2 separate regions of the Homo sapiens genome follow, and region 2 is linked to region 1. The links are contacts of gene promoters, found by promoter capture Hi-C in blood cells and fetal thymus (Javierre and others, 2016). All regions are on one chromosome and are shown on one strand. The core of a region is centred on a gene start or on the middle of the fragment in contact, and the rest is flanking DNA. Distances in the headings are between cores, read along the strand shown. Region 1 holds the start of NEK1 (NIMA related kinase 1). Region 2 holds the start of GALNT7 (polypeptide N-acetylgalactosaminyltransferase 7).

Region 1 (5,489 bases), core at 1,655-4,154:
ACTAGTAATACTGCCTACAAAGAAGGCATTTAATAGTTGAAAAGATTTTTCAATCTTTTGTACTTTCTGAATTTTGAACCATACAAATGTATTATCTATTCAAAACAATAAATATTAAAACAATAATATCTGATAGAAATAGTAAGAATACTGGCTAAATCAATTTCTCCAATTAAAATCCTTCAACAATTCCCCATCTCCAAACTCCTCACTTTTGACATTCAAAGTTTTCTTATGGCATCATGCTTCTTTTCAAGTATATGAACTATGCTCCAGAAAAAAGTACCTCAGCCTCTAGTCAAATAAGACAGCTTTCCTCACATTTTACTAAGAATTTCTTTTTTTTTTTTTTTTTCTGAGACAGAGTCTTGCTCTGTTGCCTAGGCTGGAATGCAATGGTGCCATTTCGGCCTCCGAGGTTCAAGTGATTCCCCTGCCTCAGCCTCCCAAGTAGCTGGGATTACAGGAGTGTGACACCATACCCAGCTAATTTTTGTATTTTTAGTAGAGACGGGGTTTCGCCATACTGGCCAGGCTGGTCTCGAACTCCTGACCTCAAATGATCCACTTGCCTCGGCTTCCCAAAATGCTGGGAATACAGGTGTGAGCCACAGCGTCTGACCCAGAATTTCTTTCTTTTTTTCTTTTTTCTTTGAGACAAGCCTCACTCAGTCGCCCAGGCTACAGTGCAGTGGCAGTATCTCGGCTCACTGCAACCTCTGCCTCCCGGGTTCAAGCAATTATCCTGTGTTAGCCTTCCAAGTAGCTGGGATTACAGGCACGCACCACCACGCCCGTCTAATTTTTTGTATTTTTGGTAGATATGGGTTCGCCAGGTCAGCCAGGCTTGTCTCAACCTCCTGACCTCAAGTGATCCACCCACCGTGGCCTCCCAAACTGCTGGGATTACAGGTAAGAGCCACAGCACCCAGCCACTAAGAATTTCTTTAAAGCCACAAATAAGCAATTTTGGACATAATAAAATTTTGTGAGCCACATATAAACAATTTTAGAGTATATGAATGGAAAAGCTCAACTTCGATCAATCTGGAACACATACTTAGGTTAAGCATTAAGCTCTCATCAGGTGTTTCAGATATTCTATAGACAGGCTGTCTTGAAGGGAAACATGGTAAAGGCATGGCAACAGGTTTCAAGAAGTCTTTTGGCGCTGTATGCAGCTACAATCCATACATACAGTTCTGCCTAAGCAATAAATACCATCTTGAATAGTGGGAGGGGATCCATTTATCTTCTCAGGAAAAAAGTTCTTTATCTTCCTTTATTCGAAAAAGCAGAAAGCAAAAATGGAATTTCTATTAGACTTTTTTCAAAATATTTTTTCTTCTCTGTAAGTCTATTCAGACAATATTCAACAGATTTTGTAGTAGAAACTACCAACAGGTAAATAAAGAATGTACATTCGTGAAAAGGTGTCATGTTCATGACTTAGACTAGAAGGCAGGAGATTAGACAGGGCAAAATTTACTTGGAATACAATGTCAATGTACTATTCACACGACCTCAAAAGAACTTCTGTGGTCAAGTCCGACGACCTTTATTAAATTCCTGACAGTGACTTTTAACGTGAAAAAAACCTGTTTTCCCACAAAATAGGCTCCTTACATTTCACCTAGAACAATGGATATTTTAAGTGAAACAGATCTGTAGAACCTCTAAAACCAGACAAATGTAAACTAGAAACAAGGAGTTACTTCTCTCCAAATTTGGCTCCCCTCCATCAGCTCTACAATACTGCTGCATCATAAAAAAAGGTCATTAACTTAGATTGGATGCCACTTTTAATCCTTCATAAACATTTCTAATGAAACATACCAAGGCAATAAAAAATATTTCTGCTTCCTAAAGCAGATCTTAAAGAACAAAAAATAGGCCTGCAAAAAAAGTTATGATAAACTCTTAAAGTAGTACAACAATTAATGCCTTACATATGGAAACTGTGTCAAATCATGGAAACAGAAATCTAAGATTACAGGGTAACCAGCTAACTACTACTCATATTCGCTTCCTAATTAAAATTTATCAGTAATTTAAGATTGGACACAACATAAGCAATGCAAATGCTTGCTTATCCATACTAAGATTCCTATTATTTTAATCCCATTACCGCTCTAGTTTTTAAAAATACCGTAATGTCCAAGAATCGCTTTGTTAATACAGAGTGTCTTAGAGAATTAACATTTAAATGAGATTAAGGTATTTTCCCTGCAAACACTTAAGGTATCTGTGTAATCTCAATATAAGCAGTTCTACGCACATCTCATTTCCAGGATGATTTTTACCATTTTGCATGTCATTCCTTCCCCCAAGTGGAACTCACCTCAGTGACACAGGACGTTAGTAGGAATAACGGTGATGACTAATAAGCATCAGTCTAGGTGTGGCAGTCTTCCTACGGGGCTTAATAAAGCAGAGGTACCATCCCGCATTTTGAAAATGACATCCTGAAAGAGAAACCAAGACTGTCTAACCAGCAGCAGCTCACAGTCCAGACTGAAAGGGGGCACTGAGACTCTCCACACCTGACACTCGTCTTCAGTTGATACCACGGGTTTGACTCCGTCCTGTCTCGGGCGACGCCCGTAAGACAGGTCGACACTACCCCGACGAAACAAACAAACTGGTTTCTGAGCCCCGTAGAAACGGCGGGGTGCAGCAGGGGGAGTGCCTCCGTTACCGCCTCTCCAACTTCACAGAGGTCGTTGCTAGTGGCCACGGCGGGGTGGGGACGGGCGGCGTTCGGGACTGGGAAGCTACTTGACTGCCACGTGCTCCTGCCTCGCAACAGCGGCTCTAGATTCCGAGTTATGGGGACAACTGCTCGAGAGGCCAGGGTAGGGTAAGGACTCCGCAACCTAGGGTCCCAAAACCCTGGAGCGAATGCGGACTAAGGGAGAGCGGCCGGCGCGTCACCGGCGCTGGCGTGTGACGTCAGCGCGTGGAAGGCGGCACGCAGCGGAGGCGGCTGGGAAGGAGCAGTGAGGCTGGGCTAGAACCGTAGGGTCGGGCGGGGTGCTGTGCGAAGGGGCGGGCGGGGTGCTGTGCGAAGGGACGGGAGGGGCGGGCTCTGCAGGCGGGAAGACAGAAAGGACGAGACGGGAGAGATGAAAAGGATGGAGAGAGTGTAAAGCTGTTAAGAGTCATGCAGAGATGCGGGAGAGAACTCACTAGTTGAAACCAATTTGGAATATAAAGCATATAAAATTTTCCCACAGCTACTACACCGAGAAAGGGACTTTTTTATTTTACATGAAAGCGCACTACTTAGGGATGCCACATTTTAAAGAGCAATTTTGCTTTAAAAAGCAAGTCTTTTCCTATTATATCTTGGATGGTTGAAACAGAAGAATGTTTAAGTCTTGAGATATTTTTAAAAAGCTGTATGGGGTTTTCTACACCTTTACATCTAATGTATGTATAAATTACTTGTCTGTATGTTGAAGGGTTTGGAAATGTACAGCAGTCTAAGTACATTTTTTCACTGCAGGACTGGCGAAGGTAGGAAGAGATTCCCCTAAAACTATAATAAGGGATATCATCTGGCGTCATCCTGAGTGGCCCTACTCAGGGCAACTTTATTCCTAGGGACATTGAAAGATTTTGGCGGCTTTGCCAGACGATGGCGCTGCAAGTCACCCAACCTGAAAAGCTGGAGAGTTTGTTTTATCTCCTCTTCAATCGCCATACAGCTACAAAAGACTTATTTTCCTCATTCTTTCTACTTCTAGTCTACACTCCTGTGGGCCCTCCTACCCCCAGTTAGTAGGAATTATCATGTCTGAATGCACAATTGTAGTTCTACCCACATCCTTTTGTACATCAAAGTGAAGTGAAATGTTGCCAATTACTAATCTAAGCAAATTCTTTTTGCTGCTTACAGGAAGAATGGCTAGTCAGCTAACCTCCTTAGATAATTCTTTAGGCTCATGTCATAAACTATTGGTAGGACTACAAACTGCTACAGTCTTTCTAGAAGGTATGCTAGCAGTATGCATATCCTTTGACTCAGCAATTTAACTTCTGGAACAAGTGAGCAATGATTTATATACAAGGATAACCGTTATTGTTTATAACCAGAAAAACTAGAAATACTGTAAATGTATAACAATAAAGAATTGATTAAATTATAATATATCCAAACAATGAAATACTCTAAAGCCATTTAAAAGAGTAATCAAGATCTACTTTATTGACATACAAAGATACCATTGATATATTGATGAGTAAATAAAGCAGGTTACCTAAGAAGATTACCTGATTTCCCTTTCTGGTTTATATACCCCTGTACAATTGATTTTTTTTTTTATTTTTAAACAAGAGTGCTTTGGGGTTTCTTTTTCTTTAAATATTTTATTGGACTTTTCTTTCAAACAAAAAAGTTTTTGCTTCTTGCAACAAGCCAGTAACACAAGTACACAAAGATAAAGCCTATCGTCTCCTTCCCAGAGCTCTTCTGTGCTGTCCTCCACGAAACCAATGTTAACAGTTAATTAATATCATCTACATTTTTCTCTAAGTTCCTAAAAACATAAGCATGCATTTTTATATTTTATATATTAGTCTTAGTCTTTTATTTACTTATTTATTTTGGAGACAGGGTCTCATTCTGTTTCCCAAGCTGGAGTGCAGTGGCGCGATCTTAGCTCCCTGCAACCTCCGCCTTCCAGGCTCAAGTGATTCTCCCACTTCAGCCTCCCGAGCAGCTGGGACCATGGGTGCGTGCCATCACACCTGGCTAATTTCGGTATTTTTTTTGTAGAGATAGGGTTTTTGCCATGTTGCCCAGGCTTCTTGTGTGTGTGTTTTGTAGAGATGGGTTCTACCATGTTGCTCAGGCTGGTTTTGAACTCCTGAGCTCAAGTAATTCTGCCTGCTTTGGCCTCCCAAAGTGCTGGGATTACAGGCGTGAGCCACTGTGCCTAGCCGGGACTATAGTATACATATTATTTTGCAACGTACATTTTTAAATTTAATAGTATATGAACATCTATGCGGATATCAACTAATTCTTGTGAATGATATTGATATTTCATGATATGGCTATACCAAAATCTACTCCATTCAGTAGACATATTGTTTCCAATGGTATAATTACTTCTGTGGGATAGATTTCGAAAAGTAGGTTTGCTGGGTCAAAATGTATGCATATTTTTTCACTTTAACACTCCTATGTCTTGGTTATGAAAATTTCTTAACTCCTTATTAATAGTGGTAGTACAATATAGTAAATGGAAGGGGACTAGCAGTATACCTAAGCTATTCTACTAGATTTTTCAGAAATATATTCTGCCATGCATTCACAATTAAGCACTATATGTTAGATGATGGGGACAAACATATTCAAAGAATGGATATTGTTATTCCTTCTTTCTAGAAAGCAGGCAGCAAGGTGAAACAAAATAGAGAATAACAAATTAGAGCAAATGGTTGGTATAGAACTACACTATTTTCCCTTTGTGAAATTATTA
Region 2 (5,489 bases), core at 1,480-3,979, 3.6 Mb after region 1:
AGCGACTCCAGGTCCAACGGAGGGGGCGGCGGGCCACGGGATCCCGGAGGGCACAGGCGTTAAGGACGGAGTTATTGTCCATAATTACAATAAAAGTTTGGGGATCTGAAAGCTTTAAGGAGCTGAGCTGCAGGGCAAAGGCTAAGAACCGGACTCGGGAAAAGTGCAAGTTAGTTACAAGGTAGCAGGGACTGTGAAGGGGGCTCGCGTGGAGAGCAGGGGACTGCGGATCTGGAAGGGGGCAGGTAGAGAGGAAGGCAGCCTGGCAGAGCGAGGCACACGGGTCAGTCGGAGCTCTGCGGTGGCCGCCAGAGGGGAGGGGGCCACGGGGAGGAGCGGAGGGAAGAGCCCGGGGAAAGGTGTAGCCGAGGGGAGTTCCGGATCTGGAGCTGGAAAGGGCAGGCAGCGGAGAGGGCGGCAGCCGTAGCGGTAGGGGTGGGGGAAAGAGGGGGAGGAGAGCCGGAGGAGGGGGAAGGAGGGAGGGGAGAGCGGTGGCGGCGGCTGCGCCGGGCTGTGAGTCTCTCGCCGCCGGAGGAAGATGAGGCTGAAGATTGGGTTCATCTTACGCAGTTTGCTGGTGGTGGGAAGCTTCCTGGGGCTAGTGGTCCTCTGGTCTTCCCTGACCCCGCGGCCGGACGACCCAAGCCCGCTGAGCAGGATGAGGGTGAGTGACCCGCCCGGCCCCCTCCGGCGGCAGCGACCGGCAACTTGTTTTGTTTGCCCGCGTGTGGAGGGAGCAGGGGCGGCGGGGTCGCGGCACGGCGTGGGCACCGCAGCTCCGCAGGTGGTGCTGGCGCAGCGCGGGCCGAGGGGGTGCCGAGCCCCGCGCACTCCGACCTCCCTGGCCGCCGCCGGCCCGCCCCCTCGCCGCCCCTTCCTCCGCTCTTCCCCGCCCCGGGCTCCGTCGCCGACACCCGCGCTGCCGCGGCAGCGGCTCGGGCGGCCGCTCTCCGCGCCGGGACTGCGGGCGGAGCGGGCGGAGAGCCGGGTCCGGGGGGCTGCGGCCGCCCGGCGTCCCGCTCTGGGGGGCCGGGACCGCAGCGCTCACGGCCCGGGGACGCGGGGTTGGTCCAGGCTGCGGCCTGTGGCGCGTGCAGGCCTGAAGGAGGCGAGATGCCGATGCCGCCACCGCTGGTCCGGTGGACCAGGCCCCTTGGTCCAGCCTCCCCTCCCGCAGCCGCCCGTCTGGGGGTGTTCGCAGCCCCGGGCTCCCCCGGCCCGCCCGCCGGGGAGTGGGAGGGCGATGGCGCCCCGCCTCCGGCTCTTACGGAGAGCGCGCCTCCCCCTCAACTCCGGCGGCGGGGAGCCGGGGTGCGATGCGCGGCCGAGGCCTCGCCCGGACCGCCGGTCCCCCTCGCGTCCCTGGGCGAGGGAGGGGCGGTTGGCCGGAGATGGCGGAGGGGCGTCCCCGCCCCGCCTGCCCGCCGCCCCCAGCCCTCAGCGCCTGGGGAAGCCCCTGCTGTGGCAGTGCTCGGGCGCTATCCGGGGGAAGAGGAGCAGTTCCTCTTCCTTGGCTGCGGCAGGGCTGCTTGGGCCGGAAAACTAACTTGTGTCGGCGCCCGGCCGCCCCGCGCCGGCTGCCGGCTAGCTCAGGCCGACGCCGAGGGGAGCGGCGGCGCGGAGCTCGCGGCGGCTCCGCTGGGACGCATTTGTCTGCCGCCCAGGGCGCGAGTGTTAGCGCTGACATTCCTTGGATTTGGAGGGTTTAGTCAGGCGCCTCGGAACATTAGTTACCCGGAGCCGCGCCGCGCGGGGAAGGGACCGCGGGCACTGCGGCTTCCCTGACCCGGCAGCGGGCGGCGCGCACCGGCCTCGCCCCCGACCCTGACCTGCTTCCCCCCGGATGAACCGTTGCACCACCTGCTTCCTCCTCCCCGCTGGGACAGCCAACTGGGCCGGCTGCCAGTGGGGGTAGGAGAGGGTATGAGGGGCTCACGACCGCCGAGGCGGCGGGGCTGCAGGAGGAGTCGAGTCGCTCTCTCTGTTGTAAAGTGCTTTTTGCAAGTGTGATGAGCATCGCTTCTATGTCATGTTTATTTAACTTTCCTTCTGGAAAGTTAGCATCAAGAAGTTGGGCAAAAAGGCTTGTGGCGTCCTTTCAAGAGTAAGAATCCTAGGAGGAGATCCCATTATCAGCTCTTCGCCTATATCATGAGATTAGATGTAATCTGGAAGTTTTAGTATTTGAAGTCTCTACAGCAGTGGAATCCCTTTGTAATATCTGGGATAGATTCCCATCTAAGTCATCTAAATTGATGGTAATAAAAAGTATCAGTTTTCCTTTTCAGTACATTTGCGGTTTTAAGCTTCTCAGCTCATGGAGTGATGGTGATCTTTTTATAATTTTGCTCTCAATATGACTTATTGACAAAGGATAACTGAATATTGCAATTGAGGATATTTGTTTTAAGTCATCAAATGGCTTTTTACATGTAGCTAGAAATGTTTAACCCCCTATTTTCTGGTAGAGAAACTGACGAAAAACTGACAAAACTAGCTAGGTTCAGAATGTCCCGCCCTTCTGATGATCTTTTAAAGAGGTGGCGGAACATCAGCATCACTTGCCAACTCGTGGAATATTTTATTAGTGCAAACAAAGGATGGGCCATAATGCCCATTTCAGTACTATATGGTGATGATAAAGAAGGTGATGATATCTTGATTTTTTGTTTGTTTCAGTGTACTTGATAAAGTTTCTCAGTGGATCCAGTGTAATTTCTGTCATTTGTCAAAAACAAAAGGTAGATTTTAAAGACTTAACATAATTAACATTAAGAGGAATGCTTAGGTATCAGAAGAGCAAGAAAGACCCTTTTATTGGCTTCCCAGGTAAATAGTAATACAAGCAATTTAAAGTGTAGCTTATAAATAATAAGAGCATAAATAAGGGATTATTGCCTTCCTTTAATAAAGACTAACCTAGGAGCTTTTAAGGTACAGTGCTAGAAGGACAAATCCTGTAGGGAGGATTCTGACTCCTGAGTTTCTCCTCCCCCTTGTGGTTCTTTTACTTCGATGACTATTGCATATATTCCACCCATGGTGAGATCTCTGCTTCTCTTTAATGCTGATCTACACATGGACTTTTTTGGATCCCTTTAAATAGCCTGAACGATCCAGTTTACCAGGTATGGGTTCTGCCTCTACTCCAGCAAGCTTGTACCTGTGGCTCCATTCACCCTGTGCCACTTTTTGTCTTGAACTATGAATATGTCATACACTAAATTCTGTTACAGCCTTGACAACTTGGGATGGTCCTTTCTCATCTGCACTATTTCCTTGTTTTAGGTCTGTCCACCTGTGGAGTCAAGACAAAAGAAACATGTTTCTTATTTCCTTCCCATCTCTGGGCCTCTTGCCCTTTCTCTGAAGTGAATGATGTGAAAAATGACCTTACATTTCCGATCATATTCTGTTGTGTGATTTTAAATATTGATTTATTTGAACATTTTTGAGTGCCAATTATATACCAGGCATGGTACTAGTTGTTAAGGAAATACTCCTTGTCCTTAATCTCATGGATCTTGTAAAAACCACACAGCAATCAAACCTCGATAAATATATAAATAAAAATTGTGCTACTGCTTTCATAGTGAAAACCATAGGGGGCAAGAAAATGGAGGAATTTGGTCATAAAAGCCTTACTTGAAGAAATGACTATTAGCAGTAGCAAATCCACACAGGTCTGAAGCAACTCGATTCTTACCTCCTGTGGGAAAGAATTTATTGGAGGGGCATAAGGCAGAGTGAGAGACCGAGGCAAATTTTTGAGCAGGAGTGAGAGTATTAAAAAGCTTTAGAGCAGGAACGGAAGGAAGTACACTTTGAAGAAGGCCATGTGGGCTACTTGAGAAATCCAAGTACCTCGTCTGACCCTGGACTTGGGGTTTTATACATTGGCATGATTCCAGGGTTTGCGTTTCTTCTCCCGTGATTCTTCCCTTGGGGTGGGCTGTCTGCATGCGCAGTGGCCTGCCAGCAGCGGGGAGGGGCTGCCTGCAGTGTGTTTACTGAAGTTTTACTCATGCTCACTTGAGGCATTTTTCCCTTACAATTTGAGCCTTCCTAGAGGAAGGGCATATACTAGTTAAAAGCTGCCATTTTGCCTATTAGTGCACATGCTGGAGCCCACTTGCCCAACTCCTGAGATCTTAGTGGGAACCTGCTGATAACCAGCTTTAGGTGTTTTCTATCTAATGGGAGACTGCCTTTCCATGGTGTTGGCGCGACCAATTATTATTTCAGAGAGACAGTTTAACAACGGCCTGACCATCACCTGATGGCCGCCTGACATTCCTGGTGGTGGGGGGCCTTTCCTGCCCTGCTCATGTCTGCCTAGCTGCCTACTCTGACTTTTGAGGCGAAATCTGAACATTTCAAGAAAAGTAGTTAATCTGGAAGTGGGTGGCAGCATTCTTGAGAAGGAGCATTTGGGCAAAGGTCCTGAGGCAGGAGGTAGCATGAGTGAAATAGTGAGAAACTAGGAGATAAATATTGTTGGAACGTGGAGAATGACAAGTAGAATGATGCCACACAGGAAAGCATGGGTCTCGTAGTCCATGCTAAGGAGGAGATCTTAAGTGCGGTGAGAAGCCGTTGAAAGATTTTAAGTAGGGAAGAGTGGATTTGTGTTTTGAAAAGATCACTCTGGCTGCCTACAGAAAGTATGTATTTGTCTATAGAACAGGTAGCAGGAGTCCTGGTGGGGGTCATCATTATTCAGGTGGGACATAATCCTTGCTTAGATTGGCAGGGCGGTGGTAGAGATAGAAAAAAATAAATTGATTCAAGAGCTCCTAAAGATGCAAAGGCATCAGGATTTGGCTATTGGATATGGTAGTGAAGGTGTCAGGAGGCCTAGGATGATAGATTATTTGTTTCATTATGGAAAGTTCTCAAAGCAAAATGTATACCTTCTTGTATTGTATTTTATGATTATGGGAAGCTTTTTTTTTTTTAGTCTTTGCCCTCTGGATATTTTAAGGTCAGCATTTATTAAGATTATCTGCTTGGACTTGCAAAGCACAGAAAGTTCCTTTAATTAAATAAATTATGTCCCAGACTAACACCATTTATCCCAGGTTTTAGCCCTGAGTGACTGTCTACAGTTGACCCATAAGCCTCTGAAAATAAAGGTTTTTAAAGGAAATGTTGACAGATCCATTAAAACAGCAGTCCCCCACCTTTTTAGCACCAGGGACTGGTTTTGTCAAAGACAATTATTCCACAGACTGGGGGAGTTGGGTTGGGTGGGGGATGGTTTGGGGATGAAACTGTTCCGCCTCAGATCATTAGGTATTAGATTCTCATAAGGAGTGTGCAACCCGGATCCCTTGCATGCAGTTCACAATAGGGTTTATGCTCCATGACCCAGGGTTGGGGACCCCTGCATTAAAACATTCAGTACTGGTGAGAAGCTGTGTGTAAACTAATGACTCTCTGGATATGCAAATGCAACTTTAGTCAAGTCATTAATGCCACTTAGGTTC

What was found. The method cuts DNA at HindIII sites, captures the fragments that hold promoters and counts their contacts. A CHiCAGO score of 5 or more calls a contact.
Region 2: a fragment that was not itself captured here is called in contact with the fragment with the promoter of NEK1 in region 1 in 1 of 17 cell types (total B cells); the score reaches 6.9 in total B cells.

Annotation. Positions count from the first base shown.
Region 1 is chr4:169,609,679-169,615,167 of GRCh38, forward strand. NEK1 (NIMA related kinase 1) reads right to left here and starts at 2,905. Exons shown (of 36, transcript NM_001199397.3): 1 at 2,544-2,905; 2 at 2,342-2,465. RefSeq lists enhancers at 2,378-2,497, 2,918-2,977. The HindIII fragment of the contact is 11,256 bases long and covers 1-5,489 here.
Region 2 is chr4:173,168,298-173,173,786 of GRCh38, forward strand. GALNT7 (polypeptide N-acetylgalactosaminyltransferase 7) reads left to right here and starts at 514. Exons shown (of 12, transcript NM_017423.3): 1 at 514-664. The coding sequence starts at 539. GALNT7-DT (GALNT7 divergent transcript) reads right to left here and starts at 1,355. Exons shown (of 7, transcript NR_134242.1): 1 at 567-1,355. RefSeq lists silencers at 193-242, 313-432, 663-1,892. The HindIII fragment of the contact is 850 bases long and covers 2,305-3,154 here.